Linked DNA regions of Homo sapiens: all the other regions are linked to region 5. The links are contacts of gene promoters, found by promoter capture Hi-C in blood cells and fetal thymus (Javierre and others, 2016). All regions are on one chromosome and are shown on one strand. Each heading gives the region's core, a stretch centred on a gene start or on the middle of the fragment in contact. The rest is flanking DNA. Distances are from core to core; before and after follow the strand shown.

Region 1 (3,773 bases), core at 775-3,274, 3.2 Mb after region 5:
AAGTGTGGGGATTACAGGCATGAGCCACCGTGCCGCCTAATCTTTTCATCTGTAAGATGGATATAGTAGTTTTCCTCTCAAACAGAACAAATTAGTTAAATTTGGATCTAGAACACTTATAGGTTCAGGAACTGTAGATCTTGGAAAGACGAATAACACTTTGGACATAATGCTGTTTTTCAAAGATGGGGTGGTGGGTGGGTGTTGGTGGGTGTTAGAGGGTGCTATCAGGCCAAAGGAGAAGGAATCAGGAGGGAAACTGCCTATGGCAAAAGCATGAGTTACGATGTCAGGGGAAGGGAGACAACAGGGTTCAGGCCAAGGAAGCCTTTCTGTTTTTGGCCCAAGGAGCGTCAATAAGATCTTTGAAAATACTTTGAAGTCATTTTGTGTGTGTGTATGTGCATACACACCTGATTTGTTTTATTTTTTATTTTTATTTTTTGAGTTAGGGTCTGGCTCTGTCGTCCAGGCTAGAGTGCAGTGGTGTGGTCTCAGCTCACTGCAACCTCTGCCTCCCAGGCTCAAGCCGTCCTCCCACCTCATCCTCCCCAGTAGCTGGGACTACAGGTGTGCACCACCTCGCTTGGCTACCTTTTGTATTTTTCATAGAGACATGGTTTCACCATGTTACCCATGCTGGTCTCAGACTCCTGAGCTCAAGCAATCCACCTGCCACAGCCTCCCATAGTACTGAGATTACTGGCATGAGCCACCGTGCCCAGAATATGAAACACTTTTGAGGTTCAAATCTCTTTGGAATCTTAGGATATTCCTTGTAAGAGGAAGGCTTATTTTCCTCTTTTCCATAGGATCTGCCTTTCCTGTTTATATTGTCTATGGGAAATTGTTGTATGGGCCTGTTTGTCATGGGTTAAATTGTAGCACATTTGTGCTAAGGATCAAATAATACCCTATTTTCTCAGGGGCTTCTCTTAAGTATTTTAGTGTAATTTTTGATTACTTAGTCTCTGGCTTACTTCAGGCTGTAGAGAAAATGAGATGTATTGGCTGCATTTGCACAGGAACCATAAAAGGATTGTTCCAAGCACTATGGGAAAAGGATGGTGTCATTTGCTTAGAGGGCATTGACTGGAGATAGAAAAAGCCATTCTGAAAAAACGGAAACCACAAGAACTGAGGACAGGTTTAATTCCTGGTGGCTGAGAGCTGGTTCCTGTAGCTTCTCTGTTCTGCTTTCCCATTGAGTTGGCTGCACCCAGTCTTTCCAGATACAGAAGGTTGGGACCTGCAGTGACTGGGAGAATGCTGTAAGCAGCAAGATGCCAACATCACTTCCATCTTAGGCCCATTTACAAGAGCATTAGAAGAGCGAGTTTCTACCTCTGTGCCTCATGGTTCCTTCCAGGCAATAATCAGTGAAAAAAGTAGGAGACTGACCACATGGATCTACAGCTACATGGTTTATTGTCTACACCCACTAGACCAGAGTAAGCTGAAGTTTGGGGCATGCAAGTAAAAGGGAAACACTTTTTTTTTTTTTTTTTTTTTTTTTGAGATGGAGTCTCACTCTTGCCCAGGCTGGAGTGCAGTGGTGTGATCTTAGCTCGTTATAACCTCTGCCTCCTGGGTTCAAGTGATCCTCCTCAGCCTCCTGAGTAGCTGGGATTACAAGCATGTGGCACCACGCCCAGCTAAGTTTTGTGCAGAGACTGGGTTTCACCATCTTGGCCAGGCTGGTCTCGAACGCCTGACATAAAGCGAGTGGCCTCACAGGGTGTTAAGATTACAGGCATGAGCCACCACAGCCAGCCAATACTTTTATACACAACCGTATTGGTCCATTCTTGAATTGCTATAAAGAAATACCTGAGACTGGATAATTTATAAAGAGATTTAATTGCTTACAGTTCCACAGACTACACAGGATCATGGCTGGGGAGGCCTCAGGGAGCTTTTACTGTGGTAGGCAAAGCCAGAGCAGGAATTCACATGGCTGGAGCCTAGAGCAGGGGGAAGAGTAGGGACGGGGGAGTGGGTAGGAGGGGGTACCACACACTAAAAACAACCAGATCTTGTGAGAACTGCCACAAGAACAGCACTAGTGGGGTGGTGCTAAACCATGAGAAACTGTCCCCATGATCCATTTACCTTCCACCAGGCCCAACCTCCAACATTGGAGATTTCAATTGAACATCAGATTTGAGTGGGGACACAGATCCAAACCATATCAACAACTAAAGTTTCTTTTTATGATATTATTTTTGGCATACCCGAACTCCCAGACTCCCCAGCTATTTTCCTGGTTGGGTAATATATCAGTCAGTGTCGTAGCAGGGAACAGATGACACATTCAAATTACAAAAATACAAGGTATTTATAAAGACATTTACAAAAGTGTGTGCAGGATGTTGGAAAAACCATAGGAGATAGTAGAGTGGCCTGAAAGGGAGGAGAGTGAGTAGTTACTGGAAATTGTTAAGGAAAGTCCGGTGGAAAGGGTGACCTTAGAGTGATTCAACCAATGAAATACGGCCATGCAGAGAGTGACCCAAGGGGATGAATATCCCAGCCTCATTCTCCTTATCTGCTACTGTTCTCCAGTGACCAAGCCCAACCAGTAGGCAAAAGAACCCATTCACATAGTACATAGAGGTCAGCCTCCTGGAGCAGAGATCAAGATAGAGAAGAGAGGAGGATGGCACCAGAGAGACATGTGAAAAATGTCAAGCCTGCCCTCTGTTAGGACTCTACATTCTATTAAGATCAGAGGTTGATCTGTTGAAGATTTTAAACTTCAATAGGTTGTCATTGTGCAGTCCTTGTGGGTAGGGACTAGGTTTAGTTCTTTATGTCCTCTTGTATTAGCTACTGCTAAATCCAAACCACCTCAGAACTCAAGAACTGAAAATAATAAGCATTAATATTACTCAAAAGTCATTCTGATAATCTGGGTCATTCTGGGCTTGGCTTGCTCTTGCATCTGTGGTCAGCTGTTAGGTCAGTGGGGAACTGATTGGTCTAGCATGGCCTCACTCATATTTGGCTGATGGGTGGCATTTGGAGCAGTAAGTGTGCCTGGGTCATGTGTCTGTCAGCAGCTATCCTGGGTTGGCTCACAGGGCAGTGGCAGGGTAATTGAAGCTCACACATCATTACTTGTGCAGTATAGTACAAAGAAGTCAGTCTCAAGGCGAATCCAGATTTAAGGAGTAAGAAGATATACTCTATTTCTTGATGCAACAAGCTACAAATTACAAAGCATGTAGATACAGAATTATGGCCATTTTTGCAATCTACTCCCCATAATAGAGTCTGGGATAAAATGGGTCCTCTGTTATTTTATGATTTAATAAATGACAGTACTAGAAAGGAGATTTTAAATGTCCTGAAAAGGTCTGACCATTTTGTGGTCCCCATATCCTATTACAATTTACTTTTTTGGTGATTAATTTAGATGGGCTCTCACTCACCCAGGTTGGAGTGCAGCGGCATGATCTGGGCTCACAGCAACCTCTGCCTCCTAGGCTCGAGCGATCCTCCCACCTCAGCCTCCTGAGTAACTGAGACTATAGGCAGGTGCCACCATGCCCAGCTAATTTTTTTGTATTTTTTGTAGGGATGGGGTCTTGCCAGGTTGCCCAGGCTGATCTTGAACTCCTGGGCTCAAGTGATACACCTACCTTGGCCTCCTAAAGTACTGAGATTACAGGCATGAGCCACTGCCCCCAGCCTACTTATTTTTAAGTATTTGTAAAACTTTTATTATAATGTCTTAGGCATTCAGAGGAAGCACAATTGCTGGTACTACT
Region 2 (3,654 bases), core at 636-3,135, 3.2 Mb after region 5:
ATTTGTTAAGAGTCACCTAACCAGTTCTGTATAATTCAGCAAAAGACACTTGGACTTATTTATATAGAGAGTGAATACCACTGGGTTTAAAGTGGTATTAATATTTCCACACTAACTCCTTTTCCTCCTTCATTTCACAGCACAGTCCAGACCCCCAGAACTGTGTTTTCTGGAAGCGTCAACTGAAATGAAGAAAATCTAGGCCCATCTCCTCCCACTCTTGTCCCTGCCATCAATTGTACCCTTACAGGATTTTACTAGAAGTCCCCTCTGGCCCATGGAGCTGGTCTCTGCCTTCCCTCACCAGGGTCACTAAGTGGTATCTTGTTTCCTGAGTGATCCTGGTTGATTTCTGCCTCTAGGGCTGGCATCAAGGAAACCTCTAAGAGGCAGCAAAGAATCCTGTTAGTCTTGATCCACTTGTGCTTGAATTAATCATGTCTTTTTCCTTCTTGGCTTCAGAGGAGCCTTTTTCTAGATCAGTGGGAGAGCTGAGAAATTGAGCAGGAGGTGTCATCCCCACACCACTGGCTCTGAGGTGTTGTCTTGTCTGTTCGTTCTCGTCTGTTAGAACCTCAACGCTTTTTGAAGTTCTATCCTCTTTTTTGCAAAGGGGAGAGAATGAAGTCCAACCTTATATTTACTCCATCCTCCCACTTCTCACCAAGTTCAGAATTATCAACATAAAAAGTGGCTCGGAAGTTTAAAGAGGGTTAATTGGAGAAGTCTCTTCTACCTGTGTTTTGTTTTGGTTTTGTGTTTTCCTGTGCAGTCTCAGTGAAGGAAATGAATTCCTGACCATAGCAGAAAGCATTAAGAAGCCTGTGAGTCACAGTCTTTTGGGCATTATGACAATCAACAGTTATCTGATTTTGCAAGATCCTCTGCACACATTTCTCTCCCACCCCCTATTCAACAGATTTTGAGGCTCTTTTTCTCTTTTTTAACTCCTTTTTTTGGGGGCAAAATATAATATACAGAACAGTTCATAAAACAATTTAGTTTAACAAAATATTTTAAAATACACATCCATGTAACCATGACCCCAAGGTTATGAAAATAGTATGTTGTGAGGCCGGGTGTGGTGGCTCACGCCTGTAATCCCAGCACTTTGGGAGGCCGAGGCAAGTGGATCACCTGAGGTCGGGAGTTCGAGACCAACCTGACCAACACGGTGAAACCCCATCTCCACTAAAAAAAAAAAAAAATACAAAAATTAGCTGGGTGTGGTGGTGCATGCCTATAGTCCCAGCTACTTGGGAGGCTGAGGCAGAAGAATCACTTGAACCCGGGAGGCAGAGGTTGCAGTGAGCCGAGATCGTGCCACTGCACTCTAGCCTGGGCGACAGGGCGAGACTGCCTGGGCAACAGAGCAAGACTCCGTCTCAAAAAAAAAAAAAAGAAAGAAAGAAAGAAAAAAAGAAAAAGAAAATAGTATGTTGCAGAAGCTTTTGTGTTTTGCCGTTAATGTTTAGATCTACAATCCACCTGCAGTTTATTTTTGTATATGGGGTGAGGTAAGGCCAAGGTTAATTTTTTCCATATGAATATGCAGTTAGCTCGGCACCACTTATGGAAAAGACGGTCCTTCCACCTACTGCTCTGCAGTGCCTTCTTTCCAATATTATGAACTGGATGTAAAAATACATCTAAGGCTGGGCGCAGTGGCTCACGCCTGTAATCCCAGCACTTTGGGAGGCCAAGGCGGCAGATGAACTGAGGTCAGGAGTTTGAGACCAGCCTGGCCAACATGGTGAAAACCCATCTCTACTAAACATGCAAAAAAATTAGCTGGGCATGGTGACGGGCGCCTGTAATCCCAGCTACTCAGGAGGCTGAGGCAGGAGAATTGCTTGAACCCGGGAGGCGGAGGTTGCAGTGAGCCGAGATCGTGACACTGTACTCCAACCTGGGCAACAGACAGAGACTCTGTCTAAAAAAAAAAATTCATCTAGAAAAGTATAAGCTCAAAAATAAGAGTCCTGCATTCTCCTCCCTCCCTCCCTCAGCCCTACCTCCTAGAAGTAATAACTAAATAATTTGAGATAAAGCCATTTGTAATTTATCTCTATGCATACAAATATATGTAAAATACACATAGAATCTGTTTTTACAAAAACTGTATCAAATTCTTCATACTGAAAATGACTCACTTCACATGATGTACTTGGCCATTGTTTCATATTGATCTACCCATTAAATTATGATTTATTTATTTATTTATTTATTTATTGAGACAGAGTCTGTCTCTGTCGCCCAGGCTTGAGTGCAATGGTGCGATCTCAGCTCATTGCAACCTCCGCCTCCTGCTACTCGTTAAATTAAGCTTAACCCAGTGCTGCCTTGTTACATATTTTAAAGTCCGCCTAAAGGTTTCTCTGTGCAGAGTGAACTATAACCTAACTAGATTGGTAAACAGACTGGGACCCACTCTTGTAACAAGTAGCCAAGTCTCAGGCAATTACCGCAGCCATATGTCAGCCAATCACAGGTGGCCAACCGTTCACACTGTGTTCAAATAAGGCAAATATGCAACCAATCCAGCTCTTTCTGTCCTCACTTCCCTTTTCTGTATGTTACTTTCTTTGTTCTGTCCATAAATGTGAACCAACCATGTGGCAACCCTGGAGCTGCTCCGGACCTCTTCTGGTTGTGGGGGCTGTCCAATTCACAAATCATTCTTTGCTTAATTAAACTCTGTTAAATTTAATTTGTTGAAAGTTTTCCTTTTAACATACCTTATCCCACTTAAGAGTTGCCAAGTAACTACTCCAGTCTTTATGTGTGCACTTCCTGTGTAAATGCTCTGTGACGGGTCCATTAATAACTAGAACGAGTTTAAATGGAATTTGAGGGGAGAAGGAGGAAAGGAAAGAGGGGTTGCCTGAGTCAATTTCCCACACTCTTATTCTTTCGGGGCATCCAGGACTGCCTTGGAGGGCCTCACCTTTCCTGCTGGGTCAGCTCTTGCCTGTGGCTCTGGCCTCACGGGACTCTCAACAATGCTGTGCAGGCCCCACTCTTGTCTGTGGCCCCCAGGGGCTTTGTGGAGAGCAGGCTCTCTTGAGGCATGAAGTGAAGGAACCACGCCCCAATAAACCCTTTCTGTCTCCAGCACAAGATGAATTTGGAATGATGCTTGCACCTCAGATTTCTTTCAAGAATAAAATGTTCCATATGCCCCAAGAGAACTGGTTAACAGCTACAAGAACTCCTCTCTGGAGGTGACTTTTAACTTATTTATTTTTCTAAAGGCAAAGAGTGAATGTTGAGGGCTCCTTAAGAGCAGAGGTGAGCCAGCAGTGATTTTTACTGAGTCTTTTATGGGGACACATTATAGTTAACATTCTCCACACCGGATGGTACTCTAATAGGGATGGAAATTTATGAGCCCACAGAAAAGACAAATTGAGACTTTAGGAGAGGGCCGATTCTCTGAAGTCACTCAGAGCTGATTTCATGAGTGCTATTTGTACATCCTCAAGCTTGCTATTTAAAGATAATTGTTCAGTTTTGACAAAATTGCTCTGAACATGAACAATTTCCTCCTATTATGGAGTGTCTCATTTTCAGCCGCTTACTGCATTCCTACTCATGCATTCCCTCTTCTCTTGCTCTCTCTCTCAGACCCCCCTGAAGGCCAGAGACGTAGGA
Region 3 (3,723 bases), core at 26-2,525, 3.1 Mb after region 5:
ACTGGATGGGATGATCAAGAAAGATAGGAGAGTATCACTGGGAATGGACTTCATAATAGAGTTCTGTTTGGGGCAGAAGTCAAGGCCAGGGACTTAGGCATTTTAACAAGCACTTTACAGACTGACCAAGGAAAAGGGATATGTGTACAGATAGCATAAGTGCAAGAAGAGGAAGCCATTTTGGGTTTATCATTTTTCTTCTCTGTGTTTTGCTTAGATGGGGCAATAAATTCTAATATGCCTGGAAAAAGGAAATATGGTCATATCTCAGACTGTACCAGAATACCAGTCCCTTATCTATCTGGCTGTAACAATTCTGCATTGGGTTTGCAGCTAGCATGGCTTATGTTCCTCTGCTTTTCTCCTAATCCTGATGGCCTGTTGGGCCTCCCAAACCAAGGAAGGAGTCATTTGTGGGTACCAATCAGGCCAGGACAGACACGAGCCAACCCTGGGAGCTCTGAGTCATTGGCCATCTTCCCTGGCAGGCTAGGGCTTCAATGTGAGGGAAAAACTGGGTTCCTTCCTTTTGTCTCCTTCTTATGTGACTTACTATGTGACATTGGGTAAATAATTAAACATTCTGGGTCCCATTGTCCCTTTAGTAAAAAAAGCGGTGGTCTTTAATCTCTATCTGCTCTCCTGACATAGGAATTAAATATAAAGGAAGAGCCTTTGGTTCCTTGAGCAAAACTTGCTGTGAACTACATGATTACGTTTGAATATGAGATGGTAACTTAATAAATGCTGGCTGAAGCAGAAAGAATGGCTCACGGTGATCTTGAGACTCTCTGGCTGCTACTATTTGGAACTTGTGATTTAGAGGGAATTATTTGGCAAAATCTGAATTTTTTTTTCTTTTTGAGGCAGGGTCTCGCTGTCACCCAGGCTGGAGTGCAGTGGCATGATCTCAGCTCACTGCAACCTCTGCCTCCCAGGCTCAAGCGATTGTCCTGTTTCAGCCTCCCAAGTAGCTGTACACAGAATCCTTTTGGTGCCACTTTGCCAGCTGGGCTTGCCACTGGGCTTGCTTTGCCCACTCGACCTGGCAGGCTGCGCTCGGCTCACGCTACCAGTCCAGATTCCACACCCACTGAGGGCGAGCTAGGCATGGAGCAGCAGAGGGTTTGTGAGCAAGTGAGTGTAGAGTCTGGCCACAGCACATAGCCAGGTGCGCCAGCTGCTGCAGCAGAGCGGGCAGCTCCAGACTGTGGCACAGGCACCAGCTCTGTATGAGGCTGCAGCTGGACTAGGCATACCACAAGCAGCTTCTGCCTTGGGCACCAGCGGCTGGATGATGGGAATGTGCTGGTGCCTGAAAACTTGAAGACACCAGCAACCATGGAGCCCTAAGGGGGTGTTACAGCATGTTACAGCTCTGGCCGAGGGAGTCCCAAGGTCTGGGCTCCCAGAAAGGTTGCCACTCTTCACTCCTGTGGTTCGGCAGACAGGAGCATGTCACTGCCTGCAGCTTGGCGAGCAGACCAAGAATGTGTTATAGCCCTTTTCTCACCTGCCATTCAGCGGGTCCCAGATTCTTGTCCTGCGTCCAAGAAGAATGAGGTTACATGAACAACTGGAGAGTGAGCAAGGCAGAGAAGGGTTTTATTGAGCAACAGAACAGCTCTTAGTGGAGAGGGGACCCAAAGTGGGTAGTCCCAACATGTGGCTGAGTCCAGGGTTTTTATGGGCTCAGAATGGGGGTGTGTGTGCTGATTGGTCCATAGGCAGGCCTGGAAAAAGCACCATTCGATTGGCTAAAAGGCATTGAGGAAGTTCTTATTCTGGGTTGTGGACTCCACCTGGAACTGACAGCCTGGTTTTCAGGTTTCAGTCTGTCTTTGGCTTAAAGGTTGGGTTTCACTGTGGACCCACCCCTGTCTGCCTAGGAAGTTGTCTGCCTCCTGCTGTTATCAGCTGGAATTATAGGCGCATATCCCCATGGCCGGCTAATTTTTGTATTTTTAGTAGAGATGGGGTTTTGCCATGTTGGCCAGGCTGGTCTTGAACTCCTGGCCTCAAGTGATCCTCCCACCTTGGCCTCCCAAAGTGCTGGGATTACAGGCGTGAGCCACCGTGCCCAGCCACAAAAGCTGAATTTTTTAAGAAAAATAGAAGTGAGTTCTTTCCTTCTCGCTTTTGTCTTTCAACCAGGAAACACACACATGTTAGCTATAAAGTCTTTGACTTTTATGGAATGACAAAAAGCAGGACATTTACAGCATTAGTAGATAAATGTAGTGTTGAAAAACCATGACTTGTGACTCACATAGCATTGTAGAGTGGTTCCTGATCTTTTGCAGACAACAGACTCCTTGAAATATCTGATGAAAAGAATGGATTCTTCACCCAGAAAAAAATGCACATAATGGCCACAAATAAGATTTTGCACTTGATAAAGATGATTCCATAGATCCTGAGTGAAGATTCTAGATTTAGAGTTTTTACCTGCTATCTCATCATGACAGTGTCTCACGGAAGATAAGACTGAGAAAAGGTTGGGCCCAGAGAAGGGAAACAGTGGCTTTCCTTACTGGGAGCATTGCAAGGTTACAGTAAAGTCAGTGACAGAAATAAGAGTAAAATTGCCATCTGCCTTTGTAAAATGACCCATTATGGAATTTAGAAGCCAGCTAAACTAAGAAGCTGGGAGTGGAAGCAGTGAGAATAGAGCCCAGTTCCAATTTAGTTCTGATTTCTCCGCCAGTACTGTGAACCTGGGGAATGCGCACCTCCTTCCTCACCCCATGCTGTCCTTCCTCATGAGTGAAATTAGATCGATGACCCTGAGTTAGTGAACGTGTGCATAGGAAACTGATGAAGAAATGACAATAAGACCTGAGTACGTGAATGCTCATTGGTGAAGCAGTGGGAGTTATTTTCTTTAGTAAGGAGAATCTAAGCTTTCCTCCTCTCTCTTTTCTAAGTGACTCAGGCCTTTTGCCCCCAGTGAAATTGGCATAAGTCCTTTTGTTTTCCCCTTGCTGTCAGTCCAGAAGGGTTCTCAACAATCTTGTCTTGTTAGCTGCTATTTGAAAACATTAGCATCTCTGCTATGTGGCTAGTAGCATTCTGGCAAAGAGCTATTTTACAGAAATGACTTCTAGATGACTCACGAAGCCGACAACACGTCTGTCATCTCCTAGTACCAGGGAAAGGACAGTAGAGACAGTCGTTGTCAGGGAATGGTGTCTTTCTCAGGAACACTGAGATGGCTGAACTAGCAGCATAGGATTTTGGAGACAGTAGTTGGTAGGAGACAGAGTAGATGTTGGTTTTATTCCTCTTAAATGGCCGAAGGAACATAACGCTTACAAAGCCCTGCCTTTTCTACCAGCCAGTTCATCAGCCCTTTCTTAGCTTTCATCAGGTATTTGAGTTCTGAAGATCACTAGAATTAAAATGAAAATGGTTTCTGAAAGCACAAGGAGTGCTCAGCCTCCTGAAGTGTGTAGAAATCAACATACTCAGATTTAATTTGGAGGTATAAAATGTATTTCTGCATCAATATGGACAGTCTGTTTTGTATTAATGCCATCAACCTTCCCTAATTTCTTCTCATGGTGATTATTTTTGTGGAAACTATTTCCAGAAATAACTGGTACTTATATTTAGTGGAGGAGAGAAATGGACTTAAATATATTGAAAATACAAAGCAATTGGAGGTAGCAGTAGATGGCTCAGCCCTGCACGTTCACATCAGTATTTACAGTGGTAACCAAT
Region 4 (3,706 bases), core at 566-3,065, 3.3 Mb after region 5:
AAGACCCTTGTTCTTAACCCCCAGCTAGCCTGCTTCTTGAAATGATTAGAAATTAACACAACGGTCACCCTGAGCGTGTTCATCATAGTGTGATAATAACAGGAAACAATCTAAATGCTTAACAGCTGGAGATGGGCTAAATAAAATGACTTCCAAATGAGGGCATGCTATATAGATGTTAACAATCACATTGTAAAAGAACATGCAATGACATGGGAAAAAGTTGATGATACATTTTTAAGTGGGAAAAGCTGTTTTCCATATTTGGAAAAGCCCACATATGAAAAAAAAGAGAGATTTGTTATTATTCATACGTGCATTCTGCACCGGACTGTCTGCACCCCCGCCAGGTACCCCCTCCCACTCTCACCCTGCCCAGCACTGGAGCCCATCCTCATACCCCAGTCAATTCAGGGCAGTTGTCCCTATGTCTCTGGATTGAAGTGCTGCATATTTTAACAAAGAAAAGATAACTAGGCTGCAGGGTGGAATTCTATGCCCAAAGCGTCATTGTGTTTCTCCTCAAGTCATTCCAGGAGTACTTTCTGGATAAGACCGATTCTTAGGGAGTGTTGACTATTGGAAACAGTTGGGTAAAGCTCATAGGAAGAATATTCCGGATACTTGCTGCCACTTAAGAGTAGGTATGGCGGAGAGGATGGGTCCCCCAAATGTGTGGGATTCTGGAAAGTGCCTGCAGGGAGGTTGTCCTGCTCCTTGGACATGGAAGGTAGGCCAGCACCCCTGCCCCCTGGGGTCACCAGTTTTACATTGCTAGCAGTTAAGCCCCAGGATGATTCAGAAGCCCCACTGAGATCTTCTTGGCTTTCTGTCCTGTGCTTCACCCCAGCTCTCTATCCATGTTCAGGCAAAGCCCAGAGCTGACTGCTTAGAAAAATATTTAATTGAGATTCCTCCTACAGTGCCTATTTCTGTCTCGATAAGGCCTTGGCATGCCATGGGTGGCTAAATATATTGGCTGTTTCCTCTCCAATGCCAACCTAGTTTTTTAAATGTTCCCAAGTGTGTCTGCCCAGCTTTCCCCTGAGAGAGAATTTACAGCATTAGCCCTCTGTGACCTAGAAGAAAAAACAAAACAAAACATAGAAGATGTTAACTTACTTACAGAAGAGAAACCAGGAAATTATACATTTGTGCAGAAGTGTCTTCATTCATGCATTCATTCATTCATTCATTCAGGTCTCTCAAACTCCTCCTGAGTTACTGGCACTGTGCTTAAACATGGGCCACATAGATTGATGGAATTAGACATGATCCCTGTCCTCAAGGTGTTCATAGTCTAGATCTACCTGCAGTACTAAGTGTTAAGTATGGAAGATGCACAAAACAGAGCTGCGAGAAGGGTCTGCAGTGGCCTAGAGGAGGATACTCAGGGAATATTTTCCTAAATAGCAGCATCTCTACCTGTTCTAGTACTTAGGAATTGAGAGAATGGGGAAAGCTAAATAAAGAAATAGCAAGAATATAAAGGCAGATGCCATTTATGAGCATGTTACGTTAGTTTGGGGGCAACAGCTTGGGCATTTTTCCTAGTAGAATTCTTCTGTTGGATGTGATATATGATTCTAAAGTCTTAAGTGCAATTAGTTTTTCTTCTGTATGCTTTTTTTTAAAAATAAAATTTACTAGTGCAGACAAGTGTTTCATAAACATTTTTAGAGTCATAGAACTCTTTTTGCAAACAAAACATCCCAATATTTAAGACCAATAACATCAGAGATGCTGTGGTTGAGGCAGGGGTGGGAGATGCGGAACCAGTTCTGGCCTCCTCCAATCTCTGACCAAGACACCCCAGTGGGATTCCAGGGCTCACTGAGACTGCAGTTGAAACCTACATGTTGAGATGGTGCTTCACACTTCCCAGGCTTTAAGCTAGCACCTCAGTGATCTCTCTTCACCTCCCTTTGGGCCTGTGACTGTTTCCTGCCTCCAGGAGGAGTCTGCAGTTGCTGCTTGATAGCTCTGATGGAGGCTTGTAGCAGGTGGTCTTGGAATGCTTGGGATCACCAAGCCTTGGGAGTAGTCAAGTCGTGGTTCCTTTGATGGAAAAAAGTGGGCTATCATCTGAAAGCAGGAGTGTTGGCAGCCAAGAGGATGAGCACAGTCCGGTGGCACATTACAAATGACTCTGGCCCCATTACTCATTAGGTCCCCCTGGAAGATGTTCTAGGGTGAACAGTCCTCATTTTCCCATCTCCATGGCTGGATAACCTCTCAGTTCATAGATCCCTGCAGACACTTCCTTTCAACATGCCAAGGCCTTTAACATCTCAAATGGGCTTTACTCTTTTCAATGTCAAGTAAGGCAAAGCAGCGAATGGTCTTTCCATTTTATAGGTGGGGAAACTGAGGCCTAGTGTAGTTGGCTCTTTCACAAAAGAATACCGAGACTCACTGTTCAGACTGTGATTGTTCTCTCACACTTTCTCATACTCCTGAGAAGTTCTTTCTGTTCTCCAGCTTTTATCCATTTCATTGATGTAAACCATTTCCTCTGTGTTTGTTTCTTCAAATTGTCCAGAAAAATGTGAAGTTGGACTTCTTTCCCTTCTTAACATTGCATAGAAGGCAGTGGAAGGCAGGGGGTCTGAATGAATGACCCACAGGAGTTGTGGTGGATTACCATCTCTGTTAAAAACAATTCTGCTTTGGTAATCTTGGCAGACGGCTGAACAGTGGACATGATGTTCTTAGAGGGAGGGTGATTTCAGTCCTGGGGGTTCTGTAATTCCCCATATCTTAACATAGGGGTTGGACACAAGGCTTTCCTTTGGGTCTGGGCTCAGCCTTTTCTAGCAGCTTTGCCACTGGTCTGGAACCTTTTAGGGCATTCCAAACCCCCACACCTCTCCCCCCGCCATGGGGCTGGCCTGCAGTCAAGCATCTTCACACTCTGCCGCTTCCATCTGGAACTCCCTTTCTCGATTCCTGATGTTGGCTGCCTCGGGGCCTGCTTGCTATTCTGGTGCCCAGAAGCCAACACAACTTTGCCAGCCAAAGCCATGCTGAACTGCATCAGCAGAGAAGGGTGGGCTTCCTTGGAGTCAGAATGCATGCGCAGGAGGACCCATCCATGGTACCTATGACGATTTATCAAAGAGTTCCTTAAAGAAAGTGAAGAGACGAATCACAGAAGATATTTGGAATATACATAATCCAAGAACAGTATTCTTAAGAGCATCTAAAGAATATCTCCAAGTTACCTTTGGGCCCAATAATTTTAATATTCTCTAAGGTATTGACTCCATCTAAGACATGAGACTTTGCCTGGTTTGGAGTCAGATCCTTTCTAGAAACTCTTATTCTCCTTCAAAAAAGGTGGGAGAACCTGAACACAACATTCGGGAACCACTAACTGATGGCTTCAGGAATCCAACTAACACTCAGGAAACACAGGGGTCGAACACACCTCTGGCTTCCTCGGGACAGCTTGCATAATCTCCTCCTTCCAGGCACACCTAGCTATGAATTCAGCTGAGTTTTTAAGAAACATGAATCTGGAATACAGTGAGAGGAGTGGGTATAATGGAATAGAAGGGGAAGCAGGCCCTCCCGCTAAGGGGTACACACTCTCCAGAGGACACACACACGCAGCGCTCTTGTTCAGGCATCTCACATAAACTTGTCCAAAATGGACCAAATGGCTCTTTCTTCTTCAGGCAACTCCCTTTTCTAACTTCTGGGC
Region 5 (3,558 bases), core at 542-3,041:
GTACCAGGAATGAATTACCCGACTATTATATCTGTGACCCTTGATTATTCTAAAAAATAAAACAATATCAAACACATTTAATAGAAATAACAGCTAACATTTCTTAGTGTCTTCTATGTTCCCAGTAAGTTCTTAATGCTTTTTGTTGCTTTACCCCTTGCAACAGCACTTTGAGGTAGGTAATATTGTTGTCTTTGTTCTACAAATGATGAAACTGGGGCCTAGAGGCATTAAGTAGTAGTTTGCCCAATGTGTCATAGCTAGTAAGTGATGGAAGCAGGCTCTGAAAGCTGTCTCTCTGGCTCTGACACACGTACTCTCAAACACCTCCTTAGGAAGTTACTGCTACCTTTTGGTAATAAATGGGAGCTTTTATAGGATCACTGGCTTCCAGTTTTCACCAAGAAATGTAGAATGAAAAATAATACCATTTGCCCTAGCAATCCCATTACTGGGTATATACCCAAAGAAACAGAAATTGTTCTACCATAAAAACACATGTACATGCGTGTTCATTGATATTCATGATAAAGACATGGATTCAACCTAAATGCCCATCAACGGACTGGATAAAGAAAATGTGGTACACATATACCATGGAATACTATGCAGCCACAGAAGAATGAGATCATGTCCTCTCAGGGACATGAATGCAGCTGGAGGCCATTATCCTTAGCAAACTAATGCAGGAACAGAAAACCAAATACTGCATGTTCTTAGTTGTAAGTGGGAGCTAAATAATGAGAACAAATGGACACAAAGAAGGAACAACAGACACTGGGGCCTACTTGAGGAGGAGAGTGGGAGGAGGGAGAAGATCAGAAAAAATAACTATTGGGTACTACACTTAGTACCTGGGTGACGAAATAAGTTATATACCAAACCCCTGCGACATGAGCTTACCTGCACTTGTACCCCTGAACCTAAAATAAAAGTTAAGGGAAAAAAAAATATTTGCAAAGAAAAGGGCCTTGAATTTGCTTCTGATACATACGCGATATAACCTGAGGAAGATCCTCTCAGCAATAAGACTATACATGATGGGGCAAGTGTCAACTGCATACATTTGTCAGGACCAAATTTGTAGCTCATAATTTTTATGCAACTGTTTTTACCTTGGCGAGAATCAATGCTACAAATACTATTCCAAGTCTTAGTATATGGAACCAAACTCAAAACAGATGTCCAGCTAAATGCATTAAAGATCACAAGAAAGGAATTGACAAAGCTGAACACCATAGTTCTTCATTGCTAAGCATCTGAGGAGCGTCTGGTAGCTCCCCTGGGTCAGTCTTTCTATTATGATTTCTAGAACTTTATTTTTTCATTTTTTAAAAAATTCCAGGTGTTGAGAACTCACCTTTTCTAGTAGTTTTCCCTGGGAACACTTGGGGATCTACAAACATCTGAAATTGGAGGATGCTAATGGGCAAGAATCAAGAGAAAGGTAATTCAGAGACGACAACGAAGTGGGAAAGAAATTACAGGGTCAAAGCGAAAGAAAACCAAGCTGCTTGGGTAGGAAGGTGCAATGCAAGCCAATTGTTTACTGTATCTTGTCCGCTCCCAGAGCTGCGCCCGAGCTCTCGCGTTAACTAGGCAACATCGTTGCCACGGTAACTGGGAGGCGCGGGAGGGCGACAGCTCCCTGGACTCCCGGTAACCCTTACGTGCCCGGGGCTGGTCCGTGGGGCGGGGTGAGAGATGCCGGAATCTCGCGAGAGCTCCCGGGGGCCGTTGGGTAGCGTCTTCGCTGTTGCCCTTAGGGACGGCTGTGGGCCTGCTGGGGGTGGGGGCCCGAAGCGCCAGAGATGGCTGCTCAGCGAGGGATGCCCAGCTCCGCCGTGAGGGTCCTGGAAGAGGCGTTGGGCATGGGTTTGACGGCAGCCGGGGACGCGAGGGACACGGCGGACGCGGTGGCGGCTGAGGGCGCCTACTACCTGGAACGTATCCTTCCCGTGGAGGCGCGGCCCGCTGCGCTGGCGGGTAATGGGTGTTGGGACGAAGGCGAGGGCCTCCCACTGGCGGCGCCTTTTGAGCCTTGGGGCCACTCCGGAGGAGCCTCTGTTGGACTTCAAGGTGCTGTTTTTGCCACCACAGTCTTCCTGAGAGCCACTCACTGAATTTCTCGCCCTTAGTAGCCCAGGGTGTCCTGTACCTGTTAGAAGAGTTGGGAGACCTTCCAAGGCCTCATACTTAGTAACCACTCAGTACATTTTGGATGGAGGGTTGCTTTTTATGTTAAGACAGCACAACAAATTGCTTCAACCCTCCTTTCAAATAATGGGTTTCCTAAATAAGCCCTCAATCTTTCAGAAAGCCGTCCCAATAAATTCAACGGAGGAACGTTAGGAGACTAGGGAAAGACCTCTGCCATTGGACTTTAAGGAGCTGAAGCTCAGAATACCCAACCCACGATCCTGTTCGATGGTCCAGTTAATGCTTAAATGCTTAGTTTTGATAGCATTATCTTCCTGAGTAGTTCCAAGTTTGACTACTTAATAATAAATACTAATAGTATAGTTGCTTTTTTTTCTTGAGCAAATAAATAATGATCTGGTGAGCTACACAGCTCAGAGATATTAGGAATAAAGCAGATGGTGATTAGCGATTTTTATCGGAAGTACCAGAAAAATTGAATAACAATGTGTGGATAATTAGGTCCACTATTTCTTGTGTAAGGCTTTAGAACTTCTTTCCTCTAGTTATATAGATTAATTCCTACTAGGGAGACGGGGAGGGTTCATGAGAAAAAGACATGTAACTCCTTTATTCAGGGAGGTAAGAAAGAGATGATTATCTGTTCAGTTCTTAAAGATACCAAGGAAACTCCAAAATCTGCCAAATCTTATTTGTTTGTCCAACTGTAATCCTCTCCAGGTTTAATTCAAGATTTCAGAAATCCAGCAATGATTCATTTCGTGAGCTTTGACAAGCCGATTAACCTGTCCTGACTCAGGCTCAGTACACATCCACACTACAGAGAGCTTTGAAGAATTTAGCTGAAAGATTAAAGAAAATATGTAGTATTTTATTGGGTGCAAAAACGACTTTTACAGGAATAGAAATTTGAATCGCTTGAAATGAATTTGAAAGAAATATATGGGTGCTTTAGTGTCATAAATGAGGTTTTATACTGTTTTCGTAGATGTAACAGGCAGTCTTTTCCAGTGATATTCCTCTTTAACAACGATTTTCATAATTCTTCCTAAGCTTATCTATATCCAGTGCCCTTGCTACTGAATGGTAACCAGGCATCTTGTAATTTTGTTTGCATTAAAATTATTTCCGTGAACACATAGTTTAATTGTTAACATGAGATTGACACAATGAGGTAACTTTTTGCAAACATCTTTGTGAAATAAATGGTAGGAGTCTAACATAACACAACTTTCAGCAATGAAAATCAGGTTTACTTAATGTGCAGGGAGATCACTGAGTCACACCTGCCAAGATGTAGCAGTTTGCAAACCTGTCTTACAAAGACTTTTTCAAATAATCACACTTATTTGAACTTTAACACATATAAGCAACTGTAACTTTTTAGGATTTTACTAA
Region 6 (3,355 bases), core at 254-2,753, 3.3 Mb before region 5:
CACTTCCGTCTTTTACACAGAGTACAAGTGCTCTATTCTGACCCCTTAAGGATTGCTCTTGCTAAGTCCATTTATCCCCGCCAAGTGGTTTTACTTCTGTCTCTTTTCCTGACCCTAGGCACATTTAGCATCAGGATACTCATCCATTTCTGAACTGTGTGTGAACAGCACACAAACCTATCACAATTTGTGAATGAGCATTGGAGAGGTGTAGGGGCCAAGGGAAAACTTTCCCTTCACCCTCCAAAGGTTTGCTGAAAATCACTGACAGAAAGAAGATTAACAGGAGAAAAGGCATAAAAACTTATTTGATTATAGTTTTACCTGACACAGGAGCCTTCAGAATGAAGACCCAAAGGTACAGGGGTGATTACCCATTTTTATACTTAGGTTCAACAAAGTATAGACAGCCATGTAGAAATACGATTGGACAAAATAGGCGATCTAATGCTAATAGACTGACCTGGCCTTGGCCAGTCTAGTTTAGATTCCTGGCCTCTCTGTGCAGCATTCCCTCCTCCTGGATATGGGATAGAACCTTCTCTAGAAGAGGAGTTTTATAACCTACAGTTGAGATGGGTCAAATAATTTATGGCCAGTTTTTACACAGAAAGGTGGAGGAAAGTTAGAGTAATGCTTTTGGGTTTTGTGTCTGGCTTCAGGGAAAGGGGGTTCCGGTTTCAATGACTCTTCTTAGGGAAGATGGGCTCCAGTTTCTATGACCTGCCTCCTAGAATGAGACTGAGAAGAGAGCAGGGCAGGAAGTCAGAGAAACACTGTTGCGTCTGAGGCCTTCACTTTGGGCTATCATTTTCTGAGCCTCAACAGAGGGAAAAACAAAAAAGGTAAGGAGGAACTGCAAAGGCAGAAAAAGAGGGTAATATAATAATAACTACCATTTTGTACTGAGCACCAGGCATCCTGCTGGGCGCATTACCTGGCTTCACTCATTTAATACAACCCTAAAGCTGGGCACTGTCTTTACAGATGAGAAAACCGAAGTTAAGAAGTGATTTGCCAGGTCACCCAGCTAGTATCTGGCAGAGCCAGGGTTCCTCCAGCTCAAAAGAAGAGCTCTAGGAGAAATACGAGGAAGAAAGGTTTTTAATTGTTGTTTTAAAGGGCCAGCATAGGCGCTGGAGAGGAAAGAAAGGCATATGCAAAGGGTGGAGAAACAAAAAGTGATGTTAAGTCAAGAGCCGAGGAGAGGGAACTGCAGGAGAAGCAAAGTGAAAAAAGGTTAAGAAACGCCTTGAGTACTGCGAGGACGTTAAGATCCAAACAGCACAAGAAGGAAGGTCAAAATCAGGTGTACGAGGCCCGTGTGCCCCGCCCCGCCCCAGGCGGACGGCTGACAGCGCCCCACCCCAGGAGGAGGCGGGACTTCCTCACCGCAGAGTGGCTGCTTCCGGTAGAATCCGGAAGCCTGTACGGAGAAGGGGCGGGGCCAAAACTGCGCGCCCAATCGGGGTGACGCTCTAGCCTTGCCGGGGACTCGTGGGTAACTTGCTTTTGGGAGCCAGCGGTATGGCGTCGGGCTGCAAGATTGGCCCGTCCATCCTCAACAGCGACCTGGCCAATTTAGGGGCCGAGTGCCTCCGGATGCTAGACTCTGGGGCCGATTATCTGCACCTGGACGTAATGGACGGGTAACTCCTCCGGGCTCCGGTCGGGCTTGCCGCGCGGCGGGGCGGATCAGTGCACCTTTATTGACTGCTTGTTGGATGTACCGCGTCCCTGTACCACCGAGCGCCTCACTCTGAACGCGATGCTAGAAGGGGTGTGGGGTAGGAGCCCTGGAGGCTCTAGCAGGAGCAGAACCGACGCGGTATCCTGGGTTGCGGCCGGGTCCCAAACCTCAGTTCCTCCCCTCCCCCCACGTAACGTGTGGTCTTCCATCACTTAGGACCCGGAAGCGACCTAAATCTTTAGGACATTTCTTCACTTTCAGCTAGAGAAACTGAGGCCCAAGGGGAGAAGCATGACTTGCCCAAGCTCATATAGCTAGTTAGTGGCAAAGCTGGGGAAACAGACTTCTCTAACGATTTAAGTTGGCACCTGCGGTTAGGTTCCCGAGTTCTGCCACTTGCTGGGTTACCTTGGACAAGCCACTAACCTCATTGAGCTTCAGTTTCATAATTTGAAAAATGGAACTACTAACAGAACCTACCGCTTAGGCATCTTGGAAGATGAAATGAGCGAGTACATGAGAAGTTTACAGTGCCTGGCGTATATTAAGTTCTCTATAATTGTTAATTACATCATTATTACAATTCTGATTTTCCTGTCTATTTTCTCTTCAGGCACCCTGCTCTTCAGGGAGGTCAGTTTTTTGTAAGTAATTTTTAAGCACCGTAGTTACAGCACATAATATTGTTTGGAGTCAGGATATTAGTTTCTGAAGTTGGTTACAGAATGAGGAAACAACCCCAGAGAAAGCAGTAAGACTCCCTCAAGATTACAGAAGATTGTGACAGACTTGCAACTTGGCTCTTCCTAGGTTTGCCAAGTAGTTCTCTGAGCCCCACTGTTAACTGACTATAAAAATCATAAATACCATTATCTTGAGTGGGGATGGAAAAATAAATTTATTTTAAATAGGTAAAAACCCTGTGTTCCCTCATTCAGTTTGCAAATTGGTGTTATTTTCTAAAGGTGATGATTTCCTTTTCTTTTTAATGTTAATCTGGCTTTGAAGAGTTTTATCTTCCATTGCTCTATGTGGTTAAATGTATTGTTTCTCTTTGGCATTTTACCCAGTTACCTTAGGAGTCCACCCAACTGATAATGACAAAACTTTGACCATAGAGTACTAAAAATAATAGGCCAAATGTGTAAAAAGTTTAGTAAATATTACCTCTCACAAAGGTTGGCTTTTAATTGGCCATTATATGTAATTATACTTATATACTTTATTTTTGACATCTTTGCTTGAAAGCCCTAAACTGTCACAGGTAATAATACCCTGAGTGTCTACCTCAAAGGTAAGTAGCTACATTTTTGTGCCTGAGAAAATACCTAGAGGGTCACAGGATGGAACAGCTATGTGTATATTTGTGAGTCTATTTGAGCAATTTGGTTTTAATTAAACTATGTTTGAGTAAGTTAATGGTTGGGGAAAGTAATTGTTTCGGTTCACCAGTCAGGATTATTAATGATAACCATAGTAGCAATGTTTATGAGCACTTGACTGTTTCTGTTCTGGAGTTTTTTTGTGAATTAACTCAAACAACCGTTTGAAATTGGTGGTGTTATTACCACCAGCATTTGACAGCGAGGAATTGGGCACAGAGAGGTTAAGTCATCTGCCAGTGGTCTCATAACTAGGAAATGGTGGAGCCAGGGTTGGAAGCAA
Region 7 (3,733 bases), core at 206-2,705, 3.2 Mb after region 5:
TTAAAACTATGTATAGATTATCCACTTTCAATTACGACATTGAATTCTCTGTGGCGAATTATGTATACACGAACTCAGCCTATTCTGCAGGGTTTTCCCACCCCCAACCCACGAAGAAACTAAGCCTATCTTTGAGGGTCATCTGATCCCAACAGTGTCTGCACATGTGAATCATGTTATCTTTCTAACACCACACAGAAAGTATTTTTTTACATTGTTCTATCTTCGATTTCTTGGGTGTTGCTTTTCTCCCTTAGGTGGGGGAGTTCACTGTAAACTGTTCAATTTGGTGTTGATTTATGTAGTTTTATAGATTTCTGTTTTCCTAGATTTGGAAGTTTTCAGAAGTGGAGGGTGACATATGACACCTTTGCAGCTGGGCATGTGTTAAAAGCCCTTGTGGGTGATCGTGATGACATACACACATGTTGGGGCTGAGCTGGGAGCAGGCCAAATCACCCCATTACAGACGAGATGCCATTCTGGTTTCTTTTTCAAAGCTGGACTTTTTCTTTTTTTGTAATGCTGCCTCTGCCTTTTTGATGCCCACAAACACCCATTGGCAACGCTCCCATCACTCTCTAGTCTAGGGAGTGTATGGGAGAAGCGATTTAATACTAACTACATCCTATAAGTATCTGACAGAAGACCCTGGAGTTAATTTCCATCATCTGATTCATGAACTGTTTTTGCCCTGGCTCCATCCCCAGGCCAGCACAGTGACATGAAGAATAGGTTTGGGGTGATGGGGAGATTTTCTCTTTTTGATAAAACTTTTCATTTTCCCCTTTTTCATTGAAATGATCTTAAAGCCAAGGCAAGCGATGCTACCAACGTCAGCTCATTGTTATTTTAATGAGTCTGCATTAAACCGTGCAGGAAGTTAGAAGGCCTAGGTAATTGAACTGTGGAAAATTATAGCTGGAGACATTCATAGCTCTCCCATCATAATGGAATTAGATATTGGCGATTGCTGTGAGGGCACAAATGCGTTTAGATAATTGTGTATATTGTATATTTATAAAGAATGATTTTTCTTTTCACTGTTGCACCTTTATTTATTTATTTTTATGAGGCAGTGTATCCATCTGTAAACCTAATTTATTCTCCTAGGTGATTTATTACATGCAATTGCCTTGTATTACTGTCATTAACTCAAGGTTACAGTGGTTAACAAGCTGTTTCTAGACAACTGAGCTCCATGGTAGGGTCCGTTCCCAGAGCTGAAGTGAATTTTACGTCCAGTAATTTGTAGTGATTCTGTGTTCTAATACAGTAGGAAGAGTCTCTTTTTTTTTTTCTCACCCTCTTTCCCATCTTAATAATAGGAGGTGGGATCTTTGGGTCTGATGCCCATGGGTCAGGTTGGTGTCTGGGTAGTGAGGAACTTGGAATCTGTCATTGCTGTTGACCAACTATTTTTTCCCATCTTGCCCATGCTAAGCAGGCTGCTGCACATCTGGGCTGAGTTTAGGGAAAATGGAACCAGGTATCACCTATTAAGGTTCTTATTGTTAATAACTGCAAAATGAGCCTGAGTCAGGATCTGTAGGCTTGAAGCATTGTGAAGCTGAGTTAGTAAAGGCCTTATTTTCCTTTAAAGAAAGTCACATGGAGACATATACATTGGCAACCCCTGACACTTCCTCTTGGGAATGGGAGAGGGCTGATTGTAATTGTCATTATCTGAGTTCAACTTGCATGTCACAGATCCACTCTGGAGGAAGTTCAGACCTGCCACTGTCTTCTCCCACTTCCTGTCCAATGCTGGATTCTTTGAGTTTACTCTGTGTTCTCCAGGATACTAATTAGCTTCCTTGTGAATTTTTTGCAGCATACGGTGAACATTTATTGGTTACTTGGCGTCAGGCATATGCTACAGAAAATAAAGGTGAATACAGCCCAGTCCTTGATCTCAAGAGGCTTGCAGTCTAACAAGGGAGACAGAAAAGTTATAATTCAATGTAATATGTTAAGTACTAGGATAGAGCTCAGCAGAGGGCAGGCAGGGAGGATTTAAAGAAAAGGAGATGCCATCTAACTGCTTGCATTGGCAATGCCATTAGGTTCTCGCGACACGCACGCGGTCTTTTTCTGGGGGCATCCAGCTCCTCCCTCACTGGGGCATTTTGAACATTTCCTGTGTGCTCCTCCCTGTGTTCAGAGCACCTTTGGCTGTTTGTCTTTTAGGTTGCCAAGAGGGTGATCCTGTTGTCGGGCACACCAGCCATGTCCCGGCCCGCAGAGCTCTACACGCAGATCATCGCAGTCAAGCCAACTTTCTTCCCCCAGTTTCATGCCTTTGGACTTCGCTACTGTGATGCCAAACGGGTATGTATTATCTCTTCCCTCCCAGCCCACCCATTTCTCACCCTGATTTTGACACTTATCTTTCTCTTCCTTCTCTCTGGCCATGATATGGTCAGAAGAGCACTGGCCAGGGGAATGGATTTTAGTCTTTCTGTTTCTTACTATGGCCTTGGAATGACCTCAGGGGTAAGATGAAAATGGTCATCTTACCCTTTAAATCTAGTTTTAATGGTTATGGTTATCCGAAGTCATCGTTTTCCAGTAAGGGGACTAGTGGCTGATGTGTAGGTATGTGGAGCTCTGAGAGCCGGCTTCCCTCTTGCCCAGGGTCACAGCTCTGCATGAGGCACAGTGCTGGAGCTATAAAAGGAAAGTCCTTGTCAAGTGCTGGCCCTAGAGAAGATGCTGGCACTGAGGTGAGCTAGGAGTGAGGCTGAGGCCCCAGGCAGAGGGAAGAAGTAGGTGAGGGGGTAAGGGCTTCCTCCTGGCATGGGAGGAATATGAAGTAAAGGTGGGAAATTCCTCCCTGTGCAAAAAAAAAAGAAAAAAAAAGATAAAGGTAGATTGAGGAGCCTGATCCCAAACTGCCTTGGGTGGGCTCTGTGAGTGCAGTGCCAATGGCGCAGGCACCTCAGGACCTACAGTCGGCACTCCAGAAATGCTCTCCCAAAATGGCAGGGAAGCCCTGTAAACACCAATGCATTGCCATGGAACCCTTGTTTTTAAAACCACATTAATTCAGACCTTAGGGATTCTTGTTTTGTGATCAAGTCACAAAGGTACTGGCACTTTGGAGAAATAGCTGCAACTTACCCTACAAGCCATCTATGAGGGAAAAGCCTTGCTGTGCAAGTACATGATATAAATAAGAGTGTCTGCCTTATTTTTTAAATTTTTAAAAGAAGAAAAAAAGTTTTCAAGTACTTTAAAAATATCCACTTACATTCAAACGAAGTACTTATAATGGAAATTGTAGTCCTTAGCATAGTTAATTGCAAACCATTTTTAGCTGGTTATTGAGGCAGGAAATTTCCCAATTATTAAATGTATTTAAAAGCCGTACACTTCTTTAATCATATATTTAGTTCATTTTCCCTGTAGATCAATCCAGATTAGACTGATGCTATATAGTTTTCATGGTCCCTCAAAACTCTTCATGTATGATTTGGATTTCTGTCCTATTCGCAAACAGTCCACTTTCTAAAAAGGATCTTCTCTTTCTTGACTATATGGGCCCATGGCATAATAATGTTCAGCTAGTGATGAAAGGGGCTAAAGATAAAATTGATTGCCTTTCTTCCCCAAACTGTCCCTTCCTATGTTCCCCATCTTAGGCCAGCATCTCAGTAGTTTCTCCTGCCAGAAACTAAGGCATTATCTTTGAATTCTCCTTTTCCTGCCTTCTTGATACACCTCCCCAATA

Evidence for each region. Contacts are between HindIII fragments. The CHiCAGO score rates a contact against its expected background, and 5 or more counts as called.
Region 1: a contact is called between a fragment that was not itself captured here and the fragment with the promoter of SPAG16 in region 5, in 7 of 17 cell types (naive CD8 T cells, non-activated CD4 T cells, total CD8 T cells and 4 more). The highest score is 15.5, in naive CD8 T cells.
Region 2: a contact is called between a fragment that was not itself captured here and the fragment with the promoter of SPAG16 in region 5, in 4 of 17 cell types (non-activated CD4 T cells, total CD4 T cells, naive CD8 T cells and 1 more). The highest score is 9.7, in non-activated CD4 T cells.
Region 3: a contact is called between a fragment that was not itself captured here and the fragment with the promoter of SPAG16 in region 5, in 1 of 17 cell types (naive CD8 T cells). The highest score is 5.4, in naive CD8 T cells.
Region 4: a fragment that was not itself captured here is called in contact with the fragment with the promoter of SPAG16 in region 5 in 1 of 17 cell types (total CD4 T cells); the score reaches 5.0 in total CD4 T cells.
Region 6: the fragment with the promoter of RPE here is called in contact with the fragment with the promoter of SPAG16 in region 5 in 4 of 17 cell types (activated CD4 T cells, fetal thymus, total CD4 T cells and 1 more); the score reaches 7.7 in activated CD4 T cells.
Region 7: a fragment that was not itself captured here is called in contact with the fragment with the promoter of SPAG16 in region 5 in 1 of 17 cell types (naive CD4 T cells); the score reaches 5.0 in naive CD4 T cells.

Annotation. Positions count from the first base shown.
Region 1 is chr2:216,505,397-216,509,169 of GRCh38, forward strand. No RefSeq gene overlaps it. Among named protein-coding and RNA genes, the nearest start is that of RPL37A, 8.4 kb to the left of the region's middle. The HindIII fragment of the contact is 5,377 bases long and covers 1-3,773 here.
Region 2 is chr2:216,489,448-216,493,101 of GRCh38, forward strand. The region is part of intron 1 of RPL37A-DT (RPL37A divergent transcript); the gene reads right to left. Among named protein-coding and RNA genes, the nearest start is that of RPL37A-DT, 7.5 kb to the right of the region's middle. RefSeq lists an enhancer at 3,120-3,179. The HindIII fragment of the contact is 878 bases long and covers 1,447-2,324 here.
Region 3 is chr2:216,424,076-216,427,798 of GRCh38, forward strand. The region is part of intron 6 of SMARCAL1 (SNF2 related chromatin remodeling annealing helicase 1); the gene reads left to right. Among named protein-coding and RNA genes, the nearest start is that of SMARCAL1-AS1, 13 kb to the left of the region's middle. The HindIII fragment of the contact is 3,251 bases long and covers 1-2,901 here.
Region 4 is chr2:216,546,320-216,550,025 of GRCh38, forward strand. No RefSeq gene overlaps it. Among named protein-coding and RNA genes, the nearest start is that of RPL37A, 49 kb to the left of the region's middle. The HindIII fragment of the contact is 5,361 bases long and covers 1-3,706 here.
Region 5 is chr2:213,282,673-213,286,230 of GRCh38, forward strand. SPAG16 (sperm associated antigen 16) reads left to right here and starts at 1,792. Exons shown (of 16, transcript NM_024532.5): 1 at 1,792-1,947. The coding sequence starts at 1,812. SPAG16-DT (SPAG16 divergent transcript) reads right to left here and starts at 1,537. Exons shown (of 3, transcript NR_161186.1): 1 at 1,361-1,537. RefSeq lists enhancers at 1,825-1,954, 1,995-2,044, 2,115-2,194. The HindIII fragment of the contact is 3,357 bases long and covers 1-3,211 here.
Region 6 is chr2:210,001,135-210,004,489 of GRCh38, forward strand. RPE (ribulose-5-phosphate-3-epimerase) reads left to right here and starts at 1,504. Exons shown (of 6, transcript NM_199229.3): 1 at 1,504-1,649. The coding sequence starts at 1,528. RefSeq lists enhancers at 1,513-1,562, 1,603-1,772. The HindIII fragment of the contact is 5,690 bases long and covers 1-3,355 here.
Region 7 is chr2:216,444,828-216,448,560 of GRCh38, forward strand. SMARCAL1 (SNF2 related chromatin remodeling annealing helicase 1) reads left to right here. Exons shown (of 18, transcript NM_014140.4): 11 at 2,191-2,331. Among named protein-coding and RNA genes, the nearest start is that of SMARCAL1-AS1, 34 kb to the left of the region's middle. The HindIII fragment of the contact is 4,716 bases long and covers 1-3,733 here.